3 separate regions of the Homo sapiens genome follow, and regions 1 and 3 are each linked to region 2. Evidence: promoter capture Hi-C in 16 types of primary human blood cells and fetal thymus (Javierre and others, 2016). All regions are on one chromosome and are shown on one strand. The core of a region is centred on a gene start or on the middle of the fragment in contact, and the rest is flanking DNA. Distances in the headings are between cores, read along the strand shown. Region 1 has its middle 120 kb from the start of GREM2. Region 2 holds the start of RGS7 (regulator of G protein signaling 7). Region 3 holds the start of MAP1LC3C (microtubule associated protein 1 light chain 3 gamma).

Region 1 (2,725 bases), core at 38-2,537, 620 kb after region 2:
GGGCCAATTGTGTTATATTTAAACATATATCCTAAAGTCTTAAACAAATAACTCAGAACATTAGTCTGAATTCTTCAGTTGCAAGCAAAGAAACCCATTCTAGTTAACTCGCAAAAAAAGAATTTGGGAAGCCTGTCGGGACTCACACACCTGAGGGGAAACTAGACCATCAGGTTGGATCTGAATCCACCAGGCAGCCTCGACAGCAGGAGCGCAGGCCCTGCACCTTGGCTGTAAGGCAATGAGAGAGAGCTCCAACCATGTGCCCACTCTCCAGCCCTCTGCACCATGATCCTGGCAGAATGTTTCCAACAACCTGAGTGGAAGTCACAAGTCTGTCAGGTGGTAATTTGGGAGCTAATGAGAGAAAGCCCTTATTTGGGGTGCTGGGCTTTAATTAGTGTTTTTGGAAATAAAGAGGTAGATCTGCTAGAATGAGTAGCCCAAATGAGGTCCCGGTCCCAGTCAAGACTCCTCCAAGTCTTTTTTTCTTTTCTTTTTTTTAGAAGGAGTCTCACTCTGCAGCCCAGGCTGGAGTGCTGTGGTTTGATCTCTGCATACTGCAGCCTCTGCCTCCTAGGCTCAGGTGATTCTCCTGCCTCAGCCTCTTGAGTAGCTGGGACTACAGGCACCCGCTACCATGCCTGGCTAATTTTCGTATTTTTAGTAGAGACAGGGTTTTGCCATGTTGGCCAGGCTGGTCTCGAACTCATTACTTCAAGTGATCTGCCCACCTTGGCCTCCCGAAGTGCTGGGATTACAGGTGTGAGCCACTGCGCCCGGCCATCCAACTCCTATTGTATCTGGATATGTTGACCAGCGAAGGCTGCCCAGAAGCAGTGAATATAATATTTCTTGTCTGGGCTGCCTTCACTGCTTCTGGGCCACCTCTTCAGGTGAACATAGCCACATAAATATAGATGGGAGGTTTCAAAAAATACCTAATCTGATTATACGAGGTTCCTAAAATAAACCTCTTCATGGCTTCTAGCTGTGTTCTGGGTAAAAATCCAAGACTCTTATTTGGTTCTTCACAATCTCTGCAGTCAGAATGTTTACGGCTCAAATCCTGGCCCCACCATTAGCATTTCACTTCCTGTGTCTCAGTTTCACTTTTTAAAAAATGAGCATAATGGTTGCTGTGTGATTAAAAGAGTGAATACAAATAATACAGAACAGTGCCTGGCCCAGAGTCAGGGTTTTGTAGGTATTATTTTTCATCTTGTTAACGTTTTTACCTTTACAATTATCTAATGAAAAAAGCATCCAGTTTAGTCTTGGTAATAGGATTGCAGGCACCTGAAGTCCCACTGTGATTGACTGCATGTATTATGGGTGAGGTAATTTCCAAAAAAGAGACTAGGTTACTGTTAAGAAGAAAAAGTAAATGCCAGATGGTGTATTATTAGTCAGGCCCCTCCAGGGAAAACAAAAAACCAGAACCAATAGGAATGTGCATCTATAAAGAAATTTATTTTAAAGAATTTGTTCCCATGACTTCTACACTGCTGGTGGGAATGTAAACTAGTACCACTATGGAAAACAGCATGGAGATTCCTTAAAGAACTAAAAGTAGAACTACCATTGGATCCAGCAATCCCACTACTGGGTATCTACCCAGAGGAAAATAAGTCATTATATGAAAAAGTATACTTGCACATGCATGTTTATAGCAGCACAATTTGCAACTGCAAAATAATGGAACCAACCCAAATGCCCATCAATCAATGCGTGGATAAAGAAACTGTGGTATGTATACACGGTGGAATACTACTCAGCCATAAAAAGGAATTAATTAATGGCATTTGCAGCAACCTAGTTGAGACTGGAGATTATGATTCCAAGTGAAGTAACTCGGGAATGGAAAACCAAACATCATATGTTCTCACTCATAAGTGGGAGCTAAGCTATGAGGATGCAAAGGCATAAGAATGACACAGTGGGCTTTGGGAACTCAGGAGGAAATGGTGGGAAGGGGGTGAGAGATAAAAGACTACAAATTGGGTGCAGTGTATACTGCTCAGGTGATGGGTACACCAAAATCTCATAAATCACCACTAAAGAACTTATGTAACCAAACACCACCTGTTCCCCAATAACCTTTGGAAATAAAAAATTAAAGAAATAATTTAAAAAAAAGAATTTGTTCACATGATTACAGAGGCTGACAAGTCCTAAGATCTGCAGGGTGAGTCAGCCAGCTGGAGACCAGAAAAACCAATAGTATAGTTCCAGTCTGAGTCTGAACACTTGAGAATCAGAAAAGCTGATGATAAAATTCCAGCTCAAAGACTCAAGACTCCAGGAAGAATGGATGTTTTCAGTTTCATTCCCAAGCCACAAGAAGAAAGTTGATGTCCCAGTTCAATAGCCGTCAGGCAGGAAGAATTCCCTCTCACTCAGGGGATGACCAGCAATTCTGTTCTACTCAGACCTTCAACTGACTGGATGAGGTCCTCTCGCATCAGGGAGAGCAATCTGCTTCACTGAGTCTGCCAATTTAAATGTTAATCTCATCCAAAACATCCTCACAGACACATCCAGAATGACGTTTTACCTGGGCATCTCCTGGCCCAGTCAGTTGACACATAAAATGAACCAATTCAGATGGCAAACAAATAGTAACAATGTTCTACATGCAGTAATTTGATTAATTTGGTAGAATATTGCAATTTATTTAAATTGCTCAAATTCATAGGGCGTCAGCATTGAAGTGCCATCGTTT
Region 2 (2,700 bases), core at 200-2,699:
GCGAGAGCAAAAACGTTAAAGAAATATTTCGAGAAGTCGAAAACGAAGAGAATTTTGCTGAAGAAGATTCTAAGTTCCAGAGGCTACAGTGGAAAGATGTGGGGAGTTGGAGTGGGAGACAGGTCAGACTAGAGTGTGTGTAGTTTGGGACAATGATATTTCTCCTGTAGTACTTGGAACAGGGGCTAGGTTAGATAAATATTTGTTCCTTGAGAGAAACCTGACAAGACCTGCATGGGGCTGGGGTAATACATTGGTCCACATGGACCCCTGTTTGAGTAGAAGTGTTATCTCCAATAAGGTCTAGTCTGCTTAGACCAAGGGGTCAGGAAAGGCTGACCTTGATTATCTTCTCCTTCTGTCCCTCCCTCTCCTCCACACCTGGCCCAGTAGAGGAAGGAAAACTAGATTTACAGCTGATCTTGATTATCTTCTCCTTCTCTCCCTCCCTCTCCTCCACAGCTGGCCCAGGAGAGGAAGGAAAACTAGATTTACAGCGGCCCAGCCCTTCCCCCTGAAAGCCAGAGGCACAGGTTGCTTTACTACCACCGAGACAAAAGTGATCTGTCTCCTTTATGTCATTCTAATCCTTACAGAAGAATTTGTGGCAGCAGTACGAAGACTATAGCTAGGAGGATCAGCACCTCAGAAGCTCTTTGAAAATTGCTAGAGGATGAGGGCAGTGGGCAAGAGGAAAGTTCCTCTGAGCACCTTCTGTTAAAAGGAGAAGCCAGGCCTTGGGGATGTTCCTTCAGTTTCACAAGTGGCAAGATTTTCACCTCCGGTTGGCAGCTTTCAAATCGTTTCCCATTTCTCCAACTTAGGAAGAAGCTGTGAAAACCGCAGGCAAACGGGGATGAATGATTCATTTGGTCCTGGCCATTTCCTTCATTCCTAGGGTGTCTCAATATCTCTCTACTCTGTTATTTAAGCATAATAATAATAATAATAATAATAATAATAATAATAATAATAATAATAATAAATCATCTGCTTCCCTGGGACTTTCAGCGGAGTCGTTAGGCACGTGATGAAACCTTGGTTTGCACGGGGCTCCATCCATCCATTCATCCGTGCATCCGTCCGTCCATCTGTCCATCCATTCACTAGACCACCCACCCACCTACCACCCACCCACCCATCGCACAGCCTTCCTCCCTTTCCGGCTTACACTGGGCGTTAAACTCCGGTCTCTCCAGGCCTCCGGCGCACGTACACACGCGCGGGCGAGCGGGCGGGGTGTGCGGGAGCGCGGGCTGGCCGCGCCGGGGGCAGGACTACAGCCTCCCGAGGGGCGCGAGGGCGGGAGGCCGGGGAGGCCCGGGAGGCCCGGGCGGTGTGGCGGCGGCCGAGCCGAGCCCATCCGAGCCGGCACCTTCGGACGCCCCTGTCCCACGTGACTGTCCCCTCCTCCCTCCTCCCAGTCGCGCGCACGGGCCGGGCGTCTCGACTCCCGCGCGCGCTCGGCTGGTCCCAGTCCCCGGGAGAAGAAGCGGAGGAGGGAGAGAGCCAGCGAGGCGGCCCAGGGGAGCGGGCGCGAGTGGCGGCTGCCGGAGCCGCCTGTGCACGGGCGGCGGCGAGGCGAGGGTGGCGGTCGCCTGAGCAGCTAGAGCCGGGGCGGCGCGGAATCCGCATCCGCCGCGAGTGTGATGAAGCTACCCTGCCTCGCTGCTCCGCTTGCCGCCAGCTGACACCGCCTGCACCCAGCCCGCCCGGGAGGGGAGACGCCGCGGGGCCGTGACCTTGGCGGAGGAGGTAAATAGGGAAGGCGGGCGGGGAGGAGGCAGCGCCACCCAGAGCCCTCCCGGCCCCCGGCCCGCACCCAGCCCTCGCTCTGCGCAGCGGGAGCGTCCGCGGGCGCAGGGCGGCCGCCCCCGGGAGCCCCGCGCCGGGGCTGGGCTACGGGCGCCGCGCGCACCCCGCGGTCCACGGTGCTGAAACTGCTGCCCGGCTCCGGCGGCCGCCGCGGCGCGGGGCACAGGCTCGCCTGCCATTTGCTGCTGCCGTGAGAGCGAGCAAGGGGAGCAGGGGCTTGCCTGTTTTCTCCTCTTTGGCTGGTTGCTCTGGAGGCTTCTGCAGTTAGGCTTTTACCCACGGTGACCCGGGTAAAATGGCCTGAAGGCTTGACCTCCCACTAGTTCTTGTTGCCGGGACATATTCTGGTGTCTTCTTGCAAAAATTAGGCAGGATTACCTCCGGACTTCCGAAGCGAAGTGGGGAGAAAGGAGAGCAGCCGGTGGCTGGCAGCGCAGGCAGGTGAAAGTAGGCGAAGCATATACTCCGGCTCTGTGTGGGAGACCCGGGGGAATAGAGAGGAAGCCCGTGCGCTGGAGAATGACACCGGGAATGGGCCTCTCTGATGGGCTGCAGGTGGGGACACTAGACAGATACCTAGGAGAAAGTGTGCTAACCCGCCCCCCACTCCCCCACCGCATCCCCCAGGTGTTGCCTTTCCACCCTTTGGGGAAAACATCACCAAGTTCAGATGCAAGTATTGGGAGAGAAGAGAACTCTGTACTAGGAAAATGCTACCCACGAGTTTTTAGGGTGAGCATCAAACACTTCTCAAAATGAGTATCCAGAAAATGAAGTCAGCTAAAACAATAACCAAATGGCTATTTCTACCTGGAAGATTGTAATTTCTTACAATTCCTTGAGGTTATTGTAGGTGTCAACTCACTTTTTAAAAAATCCATGTCC
Region 3 (2,702 bases), core at 159-2,658, 640 kb before region 2:
CATGAGATCCCAGCTCTTTGGGAGGCCAAGGCAGGAGGATCACAAGGTCAGGAGTTTCAGACCAGCCTAGCCAACATGGCGAAACCCCCTCTCTACTAAAAACACACAAATTAGCCAGGCATGGTGTCATGTGCCTGTAATCCCAGCTACTCGGGAGAAATCGCTTGAACTCAGGAGGCAGAGATTGCAGTGAGCTGAGATCGTGCCACTACATTCCAGCCTGGGCAACAGAGCAAGACTCTGTTTCAAACAAGCAAAAAAACAACAAACACAACTTGGGGCTTGCAATCGGCATTGAAAGTGGGGGACAGTCTTGTGGGACAGAGCCCTCAGCCCGATCTGATGCTGTCTCCAGGTAGACAGTGTCAGAGTTGGATTGGAGGACACCTAGCTGGTGTCCACTGTAGAAGTGATTGCTCGGTGTATGGGGAACCCCCACCCACCCACACACACACACACACATCTAGTGTCAAAAGTGATCTGTGTTGTGAGAATATAGGAGAAATGGAGTTTGGTTTCCCCTATGTATGACCAGAGACCCAGTTTCTTAACTCTAAAAGCAAGATCTTGGGGACAATTGTCCTTCCTTCCTTCTTTTATCCCAGAGAAAACTAAGTGACAGAATATACTGGAGTGTAGTACTTGGACTTCCTTGTAACAACTCTGGGTTTTTTTTGTTTTGTTTTGTTTTGTTTTGAGATGAAGTTTCGCTCTTGTTGCCGAGGCTGGAGTGCAATGGTGTGACCTGAGCTCACTACAACCTCCGCATCCTGGGTTCAAGCGATTCTCTTGCCTCAGCCTCCTGAGTAGGTGGGATTACAGGTGCCAGCCACCACGTCCGGCTAATTTTTGTATTTTTAGTAGAGATGGGGTTTCAGCATGTTGGCCAGGTGATCCACCCGCCTCGGCCTCCCACGTGCTGGGATTACAGGCGTGGGCCACTGCACCCAGTGTACAGCTCTAGGTTTTAATCCATACCGCTTCTCTTACTTGCTGTGTGCCCTCGAGCAAATCACTTCACCTTTCTTAGTATAGGTTTCCTTCTGTGATAAAGGGCATGGACCATTGTGAGAACTACACAGCACACTTCAGGCTGAGGTGGATCCAGCTTGGACCCCCCCTTGCTACTGAAGGGCAAAAACATCCCAGCACAAGGCAGTTTTACCTCTCCACAGTCCGCTGCCCAGCCAATGATTTTATTACAAACCCTAATTTCTTTTGCAAAGAAACATCTTGAACTGGTCATGAACAAAGTGGCTTTCTCTGACCAGCAAGCAGGTGGCGATTCCATTTCCATCAGAACTGACCTCCTGCTGCCCAGGGAGGGGGAGTGGGGAGAGGGGAGGGAGAGGAGAGGCCTGATGTCACTCAGCCCTACATAAGGGCCTCCTTCAGGCTCCTGCAGGCAGTTTGGAAGCAGCTGGAGGAATGAGTTAGGTTCCCGGTTGCGGGACAGTTTTTTTTTCTTTTTTAAAACAGACACAGCTACTGAGTGCAATGCCGCCTCCACAGAAAATCCCAAGCGTCAGACCCTTCAAGCAGAGGAAAAGCTTGGGTAAATTTCTTGGGGTAGCTTTCTGGGTTATCTAAAGAGAGGAGCGGATCTGGCCTTCTCTTGATCTTTGCTTCTTTTCTTGATCTTTGCTTCTTCTCTTGTGCTTGAAATATTCACAGCAATCAGACAAGAGGAAGTTGCTGGAATCCGGGCAAAGTTCCCCAACAAAATCCCGGTAAGACACCACTGGACTTCCGCTGGGGGGCGTGGGGGTGGGGTTCCGATCCTGTTCTCTGAAAAACCAAGAGCAGCCAACAGCTTCCCTCTGTCTGTTCCAAGTTCCTAACACTCACGCTGAGTCACATTCTTAAGGACTGACACTCTTGACAGGTGGTAGTGGAGCGCTACCCCAGGGAGACGTTCCTGCCCCCGCTGGACAAAACCAAGTTCCTGGTCCCGCAGGAGCTGACCATGACCCAGTTCCTCAGCATCATCCGGTAGGTGGCGCAGAGCGTGCCCCGGAGGAAGGTGCGCTGGGTGCGCCGGGGCTGTTGGGCTTTCTTCGTTTGGCAGTTTTATTTTGGGGATGGGGGCACGTCAGGGGAAGAGAGGAAAGAGATTTTTTTGAAGTCACCTTTTAGATTCACTAGTACCCTGAAAAGATGCTCTTAGAATTACTCTATTTTAAACCCCGGGCGGAGTGGCTCATGCCTGTAATCCCAGCACTCTGGGAGGCTGAGGCAGGTGGATCGCAGAGGTCAGGAGTTTGAGACCAGCCTGGCCAACGTGGTGAAACCCTGTCTCTACTAAAAATACAAAAATTAGCTAGGCGTGGTGGCGGGTGCCTGTAATCCTAGCTACTTGGGAGGCTGAGGCAGGAGAATCGCTTGAACCTGGGAGGCGGAGGTTACAGTGAGCCGAGACTGTTCCACTGCACTCCTGGGCAACAAGAGTGAAACTCTGTCTCAAAAAAAAAAAAAAAAAAAAAAGAATTACTCTATTTTAAACAGGTAAGGAGAATCCCTCAGACAACGACAACAACAAAAAAGACCTGCCAACATTTCTAAGAATTTCCTAAAGTAGTTAGTCTTGGCTCTCAAGCTAGGCCGGGAGATCCTTTCTTTCAGATCTTGTGTGAAACCGAGTCTGCGCGTCCGTTGCAGAGACCAGCACCTTTTCCAAGTGTATGTGTGCCTAGGGGTGGGGA

The links. Contacts are between HindIII fragments. The CHiCAGO score rates a contact against its expected background, and 5 or more counts as called.
Region 1: a contact is called between a fragment that was not itself captured here and the fragment with the promoter of RGS7 in region 2, in 1 of 17 cell types (endothelial precursors). The highest score is 6.4, in endothelial precursors.
Region 3: a contact is called between the fragment with the promoter of MAP1LC3C here and the fragment with the promoter of RGS7 in region 2, in 4 of 17 cell types (neutrophils, naive B cells, fetal thymus and 1 more). The highest score is 6.3, in neutrophils.

Annotation. Positions count from the first base shown.
Region 1 is chr1:240,733,958-240,736,682 of GRCh38, reverse strand. No RefSeq gene overlaps it. Among named protein-coding and RNA genes, the nearest start is that of GREM2, 120 kb to the right of the region's middle. The HindIII fragment of the contact is 5,022 bases long and covers 1-2,725 here.
Region 2 is chr1:241,355,954-241,358,653 of GRCh38, reverse strand. RGS7 (regulator of G protein signaling 7) reads left to right here and starts at 1,449. Exons shown (of 19, transcript NM_001364886.1): 1 at 1,449-1,755. It overlaps LOC124904601 (a long non-coding RNA gene), which reads right to left and starts at 1,402. Exons shown (of 2, transcript XR_007067052.1): 1 at 1,172-1,402; 2 at 1-831. RefSeq lists a silencer at 1,548-1,597. The HindIII fragment of the contact is 5,062 bases long and covers 1-2,700 here.
Region 3 is chr1:241,997,804-242,000,505 of GRCh38, reverse strand. MAP1LC3C (microtubule associated protein 1 light chain 3 gamma) reads left to right here and starts at 1,408. Exons shown (of 4, transcript NM_001004343.3): 1 at 1,408-1,555; 2 at 1,675-1,730; 3 at 1,886-1,992. The coding sequence starts at 1,498. RefSeq lists an enhancer at 898-1,423. The HindIII fragment of the contact is 10,018 bases long and covers 1-1,552 here.